2 separate regions of the Homo sapiens genome follow, and region 2 is linked to region 1. The links are contacts of gene promoters, found by promoter capture Hi-C in blood cells and fetal thymus (Javierre and others, 2016). All regions are on one chromosome and are shown on one strand. The core of a region is centred on a gene start or on the middle of the fragment in contact, and the rest is flanking DNA. Distances in the headings are between cores, read along the strand shown. Region 1 holds the start of UPF2 (UPF2 regulator of nonsense mediated mRNA decay). Region 2 holds the start of OPTN (optineurin).

Region 1 (5,633 bases), core at 1,714-4,213:
CCGACCTCAGGTGATCTGCCTGCCTTGGCCTCCCAAAGTTCTGGGATTTACAGGCATGAGCCACTGTGGCTGGCAGCATGTCTCATTCTGAAGATAAAATAACATCTTAAATTTTTCAAAGAAAAGATTAAGAAATTCATGTAGTATCTGACAAATTCACAAAGATCATCATTTATTAGTTCAACAAAGTCCCAAACTTTCATGACTCTTTAATAAGATTCATGTCTTCATTAAATTTTAAGTACTTAGTATAAGAAATAAAGCTGCAGTAGGCATGCAAGAATTAGACTCGGGGCTGGGCATGGTGGCTCATGCCTGTAATCCCAGCACTTTGGGAGGCCGAGGCAGGTAGATCACGAGGTCAAGAGTTCGAAACCATCCTGGCCAACAACATGGTGAAACCCCATCTCTACTAAAAACACCAAAATTAGCTGGGCGTGGCAGCACACGCCTGTAGTCCCAGCTACTCAGGAGGCTGAGGCAGGAGAATCACTTGAACCCGGGAGGCGGAGGTTGCAGTGAGCCAAGATGGCACCACTGCACTCCAGCCTGGCGACAAAGCCAGACTCCGTCTCAAGAAAAACAAAAAACAAAAAACAAAACAAAAAAAAGGATTAGACTGTACCCTAGAACATAATAAAACAGATTCTCCGTAAAACCCTTAAGTCCTGATACTGGTATCTCCTTTCAACCACTTCATCCTTACATTACAAGCATACGCCCAAAGTATACTTGCGACTAAATTTCCGTAAACAAAAAAAAAAGACAAAAATCTAGAAGTTCATGAAGAGGCAGCAATGCAACTTGTGAAAACAACATACATGGGCTTGGAAGTCGGACTGATTTTAAATCTGCATCCCAACTCTGCAGCCTGATAGCTACAGAAATCAGGCAACAACTTCTCTGAGTCCACTTATTTATCAATAAGATGGATATACTGCTATCTATCTTGTAGAGTTCTTAAAATTCTAGCATAGTAACTAGCATGAGGGAGGCATTAATAAATGTTCTGTCACAAAGAACACTGAGAAGTTCAGCATACAATGAAAGATTTGTAAAGTCAGATAAAGACTATTAGATTTTATCTACTTCTATCCTCAATTTTTACATTCCAAGGATAGCAGCAGAGTCACCTACCCAAGATTATATATACAGCTAGTTTCCGTGGCTGGACCAACACTCACTACCCAGTGCTTTTTCACTACCTACACTAAAACGAATAAAATATACAAACACCGTGATTCACCTCAATACACGTTTGTTTTATGTCGACTTAAAAAACTGAGCACTAAGTGATATTTAATAAAATGCTAAAATTCTTATTTCAATAACTTCAAGCTTTAACAGCCAAACTTTTCATCTAAAGTGTTTCCAAAAGTTTTTCAAGTCCAAATACAATTTTAAATAGGTCCTTTCTCAAGATAGTGAGGAGAAAAAGTCGTGATCTTTTCACTGGAATCCGATTAGCTGTTACAAATTAGTTTGCTGAATACAATTATATTCAGACTACCCTTAAAAGGAAACCATGCTTTAAAACCACCTTCCTAGCTCCCAAAATAGTGTCCTGTCACTTGAACTGTATATTTTATTTGGTATTCTAAATACATTCTGAACTTCCAAAAGAAAGTAAAACTAATTTACTAGAAGTACCAATGGAGTGTATTGGGGGGAAGAGGGCACAAAAGGGGGTGTTTCCCTTTTAAAGACATTCCCTTGCAAAGTACCATATGGATTATGTATGAAATCCCAATCAGAGTGCTCCGAAAACACTCCAGTATGAGAGAATGCGGTTTTACCTTTCAATTCTCTTATTCAAAATGCTGTCAGGACAGAACAGCACAGGAACACTATCTCCCAGTTTCTGACTTTATTTTTTAAAGAACATCCTTAGTATAAAGGACGTATTAAGAACTGTTAGAAATTGTACCAGCTCACAAATGAGGAGACTGACGATGTTAAGGAACACCTAAGAACTATGGAAATGAGATAAAGCGTCAGCGAGGGTTTCACTTTGATCTGATGCATCGTTTCGTGTCGTGTAAGTCCTCTAAGATGAGCAAGAGAGCTGAAGGTCCGATCACCCCAGCGTGGACCCAGCTGGCTCTGCTCTGCCAACCTGGGGACCAAATATCCTGTGATCACTTCCTTAGTCCAACAGTCCTAGCAAGAAGAGAGTGCTTGGCGCCTTGAAGAGGTGAAGGTAAAGTGAAGAATCAACCAGCCTATGTGATTAAAAGGAAGTCAACCAAACAGCCCATGCCCACCATCCCCAGATACACCCCAAGCCCCTTCCCCTACACATACCTCTCCTACAAACCCCTGCTCTGGTGGTGTAGGAACCTCTAAACCCACCACACTTCCCCGACACAACTCCCCTTCCCACAGGTATCCACGGTCACCTTCGCGGACCATCGCTGCCCCAACCCCAACTTCTCGCCCCACACTCCCTCGCCACAGAAGCCTTCCCGGCCGGTCTCCCCACTCCGCAGCCTCCCACACACGCGCCCTCCCCACTTTCTCGCCCTCGCTTCCCTCCCGGCTCTCGAGGAGCTTCCCCCGACCTCCCCTCGCTCTCCTCCACGCCCCCGAACACTTTCGCCCCTCCACCGCGGGCTCCCCGCCTCCAGTCTCGAGGCCCGGCCCAGGCATGTGGGGCAGGCACCTCCTCCACCGCCCCCCAAGCATGGCCCGGCCCGGGGGCTCCCGCGTTGATGGGAGCCTCGGAGACAGGGGGTCTGAGGAGAACGACGCCGGACCCGCGGTCCCTCCACTGCTCGCCGACCCCGGAGAGCTGGAGTGTGGAGTCGCCTCTGGGGTCCCCCAGGGAGTAGGAGTCTAGGCCGGTGCCCCCCAGCCCCATTTCCTCCCGATCGTTGGAGCGGAGGGGAAGGAGGATCCCCGGGACTCACCTCGAGCCTGTTGTCAACATTAGCCCCGGGTTTCCCAGCACCAACTCCAGCGCTCGGGCTCTCCCCTCCCCTCCCCCCACCTATCTCGCAGCCGAGGGCCCGCCTTCCCTCAGCTCCCCCTCCTCCCTCCGCCCGCCAGCCCTCCCGCCCGCCACTCACCAGCGCGGCCGGGCTGAGAGTGGGGGCGGGGCGGAAGGAGGCGAGAGGGAAAAGGCCATCCGCGCGACTGCCCGATTAAAAACAGTCCTGATCGTCTTCCCTGCGGCATGCCGATGCCCTCAGCTTGACTCTGGGGTGGCGGGTCCGGGGCAAAGGCTCATATGAGTGCCATTCACTTAACAGCTCTTTCAAATTCCCCAGTCGATGAGAAGAGCGAATTTTTCAGACTGGCAATACGTAAGGTAGCCACTACCAGCACCTCAAACCAGGGCCCCAGCGGAGGGGTGGAGTGTTCCGAGGACCCGAGGCAGGAAGTGGATTGGTCGCCAGGAAAGGGAAAGCGCCTGAATTGGAGCTGCGCAGGCGCAGGCGCTTCGCGGGGGATGGGGGTGGGAAGCGCGAATGGGGCGGGGCGGAGCTCACGGGAGGCGAGGAAGTGTGGTGGAATAGTGGGAGGGTTACGGAGCGCCATTAAGGACAAGCCCGGCCACGTGATTCTCCTGGGCGTTTCCTGGTGCGAACCTAAGGAAGAGGTCTAAGAAGAGAAAGTTTGATTGGACTAATTCGAGGGGAGACGTTGAAGATTTAGAAAATTGGAAACTGGAGAAACTAAACCATATGGCTGGTTTGGGAGGTGGGAGTCGCTTAGGAATGGGTCTAGTCTTAAGAATGCCCTAAAAGACATCGAAAGTCCTGCGGGGGGATTTCCAGAAGCACTTCTAGGTGTTCGACGTAAAAACCACCCAGGGCGAAGAAGAATCAAGGCTTTTTCCATACACTTCTTAGAAAGTACCTGGTTCTAGCAAGCAAACTTTTAAAAATTACAGTGGCAAGACTTCCCTGAGTTATCAAATCACCCATTTTAAAAAAAAAATGGCTAGCGTCGACATTTCTTCTGAATGCGAACCCAGGCCGACTTTCAAAAATGGGTATCAGTTTATCCACACTGCTTATTTCCTCCTGAATTGCTGAAATGGTGCATCTGGCCTCGAAACAGTACTGGGTTCTGCCAACATGATCCGAGTAGGTGGCTCTGGCTGGTCCGGAGCTAGAGGAACAAGGGTGCGAAACTGGTCTTGACGTTTGCTTGACTTGAGGGGGCCCCACCTGGTGCCCAAGCCCACGTAATGAACTACTACCAACCACAAATACTTGAGGCAAGTCCAGGTTCCCTATGACTCAACCTTTGCCCATTTGCCTCTATTTACTGTTTGCTTCCCCATTTACTCTTAGCACGCAAATTATCCTCTCATACTGAGTGTTGCTGCTTCCTGTATTTAAAAATATATATTTTTTATACACTACACATAGGTCAGTCATTTAAAGGATAGTGAAAGAGAAAGATGAAGGCCGGGCACGGTGGCTCACGCCTGTAATCCCAGCACTTTGGGAAGCCGAGGCGGGCGGATCACAAGGTCAGGAGTTCGAGACCATCCTGCCTAACACGGTGAAACCCCGTCTCTACTAAAAATACAAAAAAAATTAGCCGGCCGTGGTGGCACGTGCCTGTAGTTCCAGCTACTCCGGAGGCTGAAGCAGGAGAATGGCGTGAACCGGGAAGGCAGAGCTTGCAGTGAGCCGAGTTTGCGCCACTGCACTCCAGCCTGGGCGACAGAGGGAGACTCCGTCTCAAAAAAAAAAAAGAGAAAGATGAATACTGCTATTCTGCAGCATTGATAAACAATTATGAGAACTGCCCCAAATACCATATTGGTGATAGCCACCCACGCTTCTCTTCAAGGTTTCCTTTTCCCATTTCATGGGATTACCTTAAGAAGCTTTACTTCTGGCTGGTGCGGTGCCTCATGCCCGTAATCTCAGTACTTTGGGAGGCCGAGGCTGGTGGATCACCTGAGGTCAGGAGTTCCAGACCAGCCTGGCCCCAATATGGTGAAACCCAGTCTCCACTAAAAATACAAAATTAGCCAAATGTGGTGGCGAGCGCCTGTAATCCCAGCTACTCGGGAGGCTGAGGCAGAAGAATCACTTAGAACCCGGGAAGCAGAGGTTGCAGTGAGCCGAGATAGCGCCACTGCACTCTGGACTGGGCAACAGAGTGAGACTCTGCCTCAAAAAAAAAAAAAAAAAGAAAGAAAAGAAAGAAAGAAAAAAGCTTTACCTCTTTGTTAATAAATATAATAAATCCTTCTCATCCTAAATCAAGTCAACCTTTGTCTTTAATCAGGTGTTAAAAGGAAATCACCTAAAATCAAAAAACAGGAGGGCCTTTTTGTTGAGAATTTGCTATTTCACATTTGTGATTTTAGTTCATCGCAATCACCATTTTATAAAAATAGAGTCAGATGAATTTACTATCACAAAACTAATAAGTATACTATCTAGTATTCTCAAATCTAACTCCAAAAACCCAAGTTCTTTCTGCTATGTCTCTATGCAAACTTTTACATAAACTGAGAATGCTGCCAATCATTTTACTTCCAAAGACAGATGTCAAGCTAGCCACCAAAAGCCTGATGTGGGAATATCATTGTAATCTCTTAACTAGAAAAAACACCCCGCTCTGAAGAGGCCATCATTTTTTTATTCGGATAATAATTCAAACTT
Region 2 (5,633 bases), core at 3,029-5,528, 1.1 Mb after region 1:
TCCCCCAAAAATCCCCTCGAGTTCCTTTGCAGTTCAAAGCCACCCCCAATTTCAGGCAACTACTGGTCTGATTTCTGTCTTTTTCTACTTTCCTTTTCTGGACATTTAATGTATATGGAGTCATAGCATATGTAGTCTTTGGCATCTGGGGTAGCAAGTACGAATATTAGTCTACCACCTCAGATGCACATAAAAATATTACATATCTTTTCTTTTCTTTTCCTTCCTTCCTTCCTTCCCTCCTTCCTTTCTCTCTCTACTTCCTTCCTTCCCTCCTTCTTACCTTTCTTCCTTCTCTCTCTCTCTCTCTTTCTTTTTGGACAGAGTCTCACTCCATGGCCCAGGCTGGAGTGCAGTGGCACCATCTTGGCTCAGCGCAACCTTTGACTCCCAGGCTCAAGCAATTCTCCTGCCTCAGCCTCTCAAGTAGCTGAGATTACAGGCACGCACCACTACTGCCTGGCTAATTTTTATATTTTTAGTAGAGATAGGGTTTCACCATGTTAGCCAGGCTGGTCTTGAACTCCTGACCTCAAACGATCCTCCCAAAGTGCTGGGATTACAGGCGTGAGCCACCGCCCTGGGCCTCTTTACTTTCTTTAAACCCAGTTCTGCAGGGGTGTACGGAAACCTATTTTCGGGCACCACTGGGGTCTGGAGAGGGGAGGTCTCCTTCCCTACGGCCATGCAAAACTCCAGGAGGGCTTTTGGTACCCATTGAAGTAAGGGCCATTTATTTTTCAGCCCAGCAACATTGCCACTGATACCCTCATTATCAAATGGTTCTTCTAGGGAACAGTCTCTGCTGTTTCCAATGACAAGCCTGGGCAGCAGAATCTGCGGGAGGTTCCCAAAGTCCAGTAGGTGCATCCCAAGAGCTTGCTGTCTGTCTGGGTGCTGCAGGGACTGAGGCTTGAGTCCTTGATGCTCATAAGACCACCATCCCACTCCTCCTCCCAATCTGGGGGCGGGGGAGTCACTCCTCCCTCCAACTGTTGTGAAAGCCTCCACCCCACCCAGCTCTGGCTCTTCCTCCAGGACATCTGGGGTAGATCATGGATGTATTGAGATCAGGCTTTCTCAAAAGACAAGAAGAAAGGCTGTACTTCTAAGAGCTGTTGCCAGGAGTCCAGCCAACGCTCCTGAAGGTAGGAAGCCCAAAGGGACTCGTTGCTAACTCCAAACAGAGGAGATTGGGGTGGAAAGGGAACACAAGGAACATCAAACCCAGATTAGGATCTCACTAAAAACCTTCCCACACTGCTCTACATTTACCCACCACAAAACCACATCAACAAATCAGCTAAGAGCATGCTATTATTTCAGTTTTTTCGCTGCATTTAGATTCCATCTACCCATGGAAGTGTGCAGGAAGATGGAGTCACCAAACGGGATGATCCAGGCTAAGAAACAGAACCGGCTCTAACACAAGCAACAGCAACAAACACCATGAGCCAGGCGTTCTTCTAGGTGTTGAAGACGTATTTCCTCTTTAATCTTCTCAGCATCCTTAGGTGAGGGCTGTGGGTCCAGAGGCCTTATCTAAAATTTTTGGGTGGCTGGGCACCGTGGCTCACACATGTAATCCCAGCACTTTGGAAGGCCGAGGCAGGTGGATCACCCGAGGTCAGGAGTTCAATACCAGGCTGGTCAACATGGCGAAACCTCATCAATACGAAAAATGCAAAAATTAGCTTGGTGTGGTGGCACACGCCTGTAATCCCAGCCACTTGGGAGGCTGAGGCAGGAGAATCACTCAAACCCAGGAGGTGGAGATTGCAGTGAGCTGAGATTATGCCACTGCACTCCAGCCTGGGCAACAGAGTGAGACTCCACCTCAAAAAATAAAATAAAACCTTTGGGGCAAGCTCTGCTTTAGAGTCCAGAATTCTGGGGATTTTCAAAAGGCTATTCAATAAATGGGATTTATATCACATAACACCCTGACACTGTCTGACGCAGTTCTCCTATCAACTATTCGATTTTCCTTCACAAAACAAATTTAAAAATCACATCAAGGGATCTAAATAAAGACTGTAAATAGCTTTCCATCAGTTGGGTCTGGTCAGAAAAGAGGTTTGGTCCTTAGAACTTTCTGGATTTGGGAGTGTACTATACTCCCCATTTTACAGATAAAGGGAATGAGGAAGGGTAAGATGAAGTAACTTGGTCAAGGTCCTACAGCTAAGAAGTGGTTGTCGGGGGAGTGTGTGTGCATGTGTGTGTGCAGTGCTTCAGGGCACCCCCCACCCCGACCCCACCACTGAGAGCAAGGAATCAGGAGAAAACAACTTTGACTGCTTTCTGTACCAGAAACTCACCTCGAGCCTCCCACACCAAAGCCATGGGCAGCTTGTGGGTGACCTTCTTCTCTTGGCTCTGAGTTTCACTGATGCTCATTTTAATTCACTTTCATAGTGTTGTTTTGTTCTCGTTTTTGTTTTTGCTTGAGACAAAGTCTCCCTCTCACCCAAGCTGGAGTGCAGTGCTGCAATCACAGCTCATTGCAGCCTCTCCCTCCTGGGCTCAAGCGATCCTCCTGCCTTGACCTCCCAAAGTGCTGGGATTACAGGTGTGAGCCACCGTGCCCCACCTATAGGGTTTTAAACAGTAAAAGGAGCCTAGTGAAGTACGACTTACCGCAGGCACCCCTTACAGGCCCCGGGGGGACCCTTTTCTGCCGATCCCAGGGTACAGCTGTGACACCGTCTTTTCTGCCTGGATTATCCCAGTAGATAAACAAAAATTAGAGATCGTCATTCCATTTCTCTCTGTATATATTTTTCCAAGCCCTTTTCATGAATGATCAGTTATTTCCTGCACTGATTTTTTTTTTTTTTTTTTTTTTTTGAGACGGAGTCTCACTCTGTCACCCAGGCTGGAGTGCAGTGGCATGATCTCGGCTCGCTGCAAGCTCTGCCTCCCGGGTTCAAGCGATTCTTCTGCCTTAGCCTCCCGAGTAGCTGGGACTACAGGAGAGTACCATCATGCCCGGCTAATTTTTGTATTTTTAGTAGAGACAGGCTTTCACCATATTGGCCAGGCTGGTCTCGAACTCCGGACCTTGCGATCTGCCTGCCTTGGCCTCCCAAAGTGCTGGGATTACAGGCGTGAGCCACCGCGCCTGGCCCTCCTGCACTGATATAAAAAGAATTTTTTTAAATTCTCTATTTCTCCCCACTCCCACCCCCAGGCTCACTCCTTATAAAGCAGCCTCTAGCCTCATCTGCCCCTCCTACACCACACCAACTCGAGGGCCCGGAATTGGGTCTGGGGCAGTCGCTGACTTGCTTGCTTCTCTGCCCTGCTCTTGGGGTTAGCCTCAGGGGCAGGGTTGAGAGTCAGGCTTGGCCAGGCAGCAGGAGGTCCAGACAGCGAAGCAGAATCCTTCGGAGATACCAGGAGAGGGCGCATCTGCCTTTTTCCTGTTTCAGATTAGGTTTTGTTGTTGTTGTTTTGTTTTTTTTCTCTCCCTCTCTCCCTCCCTCCCTCTCTCCCTCCCTCTCTCCCTCTCTCCGTCCCTCCCTCTCTCTCTCTCTCCCCCTCCCTCCTTCCCTCCCTCCCATCCCTGCAGCGCTACCCGGGTACTCTGGATGCACATAGGGCGGCTCTCGCTCCTACCTTGTCATCCTGCTGTCTAATCCGGGGGCAGCTTCCCTCCTCCACACCAGCAGAGGCTATTCTTCAGCAACAAGAATAGCCGAGCCTATTCGTCCGCAACAAGAGCCCAAGAAGCATCCTGCAGGCTTTCTGCTTTTTGAGTGTATTTTAAAGCAAAAACGAGTGGAAAGCTATGTATGCTCAGTTAACTATGTCTAGATGTTAACCTTTTTTCAAAAAACACAGATGGAGGCCTCCCTCCGAGGATGCCTGGCATTCTCCTCTTTCTGTGGGCGGCAGCGACCCCCTGCGGCTCCAGCCTCCACTACGGGATCTGCGGGAAGACACGGGGAAGACGAACTCCGCACACTGCATTTGATTAATGATTTATTTTGATTAACGCCGTCACAGTGACGCCTTAGAGCAGTCCCTGTTCACCCGGGTCCCAGCCTCGACCCCGCACGGACAGCGAGGGTGGGTAGCTGGGGGCGGACGCAGGAAAGAGGAGGGGCGGGGCCTTGGTCGGGTGGGGTATGGAATGGGCAGGGTGGGGGGGATGGGCGGGGTATGGGATGGGCGGGGCCCGGGAAATTCCCCGGCGCGGGCAGGGAGCGGCTGGCTGTCAGCTGAGCCGCGCTGGGCGGGGTCGCCAGGCCGCGCATCAGCCCTAGGCACCCCAGTCCCGGCTGCCCCCTCCGCCACCGCCGCCGCCCGCCGGCAGGTTCCCTGGTCAGCGTCCCATCCCGGTCGGGAGTTCTCTCCAGGCGGCACGATGCCGAGGAAACAGTGACCCTGAGCGAAGCCAAGCCGGGCGGCAGGTGAGCCAGGGCAGGGGGCTGCAGCGGTGGGCGAGGGGGCGGCGGCTCCTTCCCGGCGGGCGCTTCCGCGGCCTGAAAACGGTACCCGCCGCCCTGCCCCGCGGCCCGGAGCCTGTCGGGGTGAGGGTGGCGAGGGGTGGGGCGGCCCTCCCGCGAGACGGCTGCCCTGGGAGGATCCCCAAGCCTCGGCGGGTCCTGACCTGGTGGGAGAGGGTGGGTAGTGAACACAGGGTGGGCCCAAGAAGGGTCCAGGGCCGGCCTCTTGGCCGCAGGTAACCCCTCTACAAGTCACCCAGAGACTTGGAGGTGACGTCCTCCCGCAGGCTGGGAAGGATTCCGCAGCCAGTTCCTCGCCATAAGGAGGTGGTTACAGACACGCCTGTGGGAGACATGGGACCACTACCCGAGCTGAATGAGGTGCCCAGGGTCGGTGGGAATCCACATAGACTGCTGTGTCTAGGAGAGTGTGTACACTCTATATAGAGAGAATATTTGATGAGGCCGAGAACCCCAAAGGAATTGTTTTTGCCATCGAAATGCATAAGCTACAGGAAGTAAACATCGCTCAAAGAAAATGAAACCCAGGTTCCGACCTGGCCTCCACCAGCAGGAAAACTGTTGTATGGAAATGTACACCAAGGAACTGTTTGTAAGGATGAAATGGAAAATGAAAGCATAGAAAAGTAAGGCAATGTGAGGACCTCAGAAGCCTTTGGATCTGGTTAGCAAGGTGCAGGCTGTGTGAACAGAAGAACCCACCTTGCTCTTTTGACCCAGGGAGAGAAGAGTTAGTGGTGCCAGGCTGCCTCCCAGGACAGGCCCAGTTTTGGGGCGGGGGCTGGAGAAGTCCCAGGGCAGACCCCAAGGCCAGGGATTGCCCTGGAGTGGACAAGGCAAGTTTAAATGTGACCTGTAGACAGAGGACGATCATTGATTTAAGTCCTGGCATAATTCATCTGTTTTTCCACTGGGCCAATTTTAGGCGTTCTTTATATATTACGTACAACACAATAAAAGTAACAGCTTCTTTTTTTATAAACTAACCTTTAGGTTGCATATTATGCTAGGAATATAACTAACCTAACCTCCACCCCCCCACCCCCCCACCCACCCCCGGAAAACCAAACTTTATTCTCGAGGGCAACTGGACACTGTATTATGTCCTGCCGAACCCCCGCCCTTACTTAGGTAGAGGCGCATAAGTATTCTGGCCAT

Evidence for each region. Contacts are between HindIII fragments. The CHiCAGO score rates a contact against its expected background, and 5 or more counts as called.
Region 2: a contact is called between the fragment with the promoter of OPTN here and the fragment with the promoter of UPF2 in region 1, in 1 of 17 cell types (erythroblasts). The highest score is 6.1, in erythroblasts.

The regions. Positions count from the first base shown.
Region 1 is chr10:12,039,846-12,045,478 of GRCh38, forward strand. UPF2 (UPF2 regulator of nonsense mediated mRNA decay) reads right to left here and starts at 2,964. Exons shown (of 22, transcript NM_015542.4): 1 at 2,910-2,964. It overlaps LOC105376416 (a long non-coding RNA gene), which reads right to left. Exons shown (of 3, transcript XR_930666.2): 3 at 3,954-4,116. RefSeq lists enhancers at 1,872-1,961, 3,132-3,381 and silencers at 2,482-2,531, 2,552-2,691. The HindIII fragment of the contact is 3,508 bases long and covers 1,337-4,844 here.
Region 2 is chr10:13,095,885-13,101,517 of GRCh38, forward strand. It overlaps OPTN (optineurin), which reads left to right and starts at 4,279. Exons shown (of 15, transcript NM_001008212.2): 1 at 4,279-4,418. It also overlaps a transcript of CCDC3 not described here. RefSeq lists silencers at 3,555-3,614, 4,085-4,654 and an enhancer at 4,935-5,064. The HindIII fragment of the contact is 12,315 bases long and covers 1-5,633 here.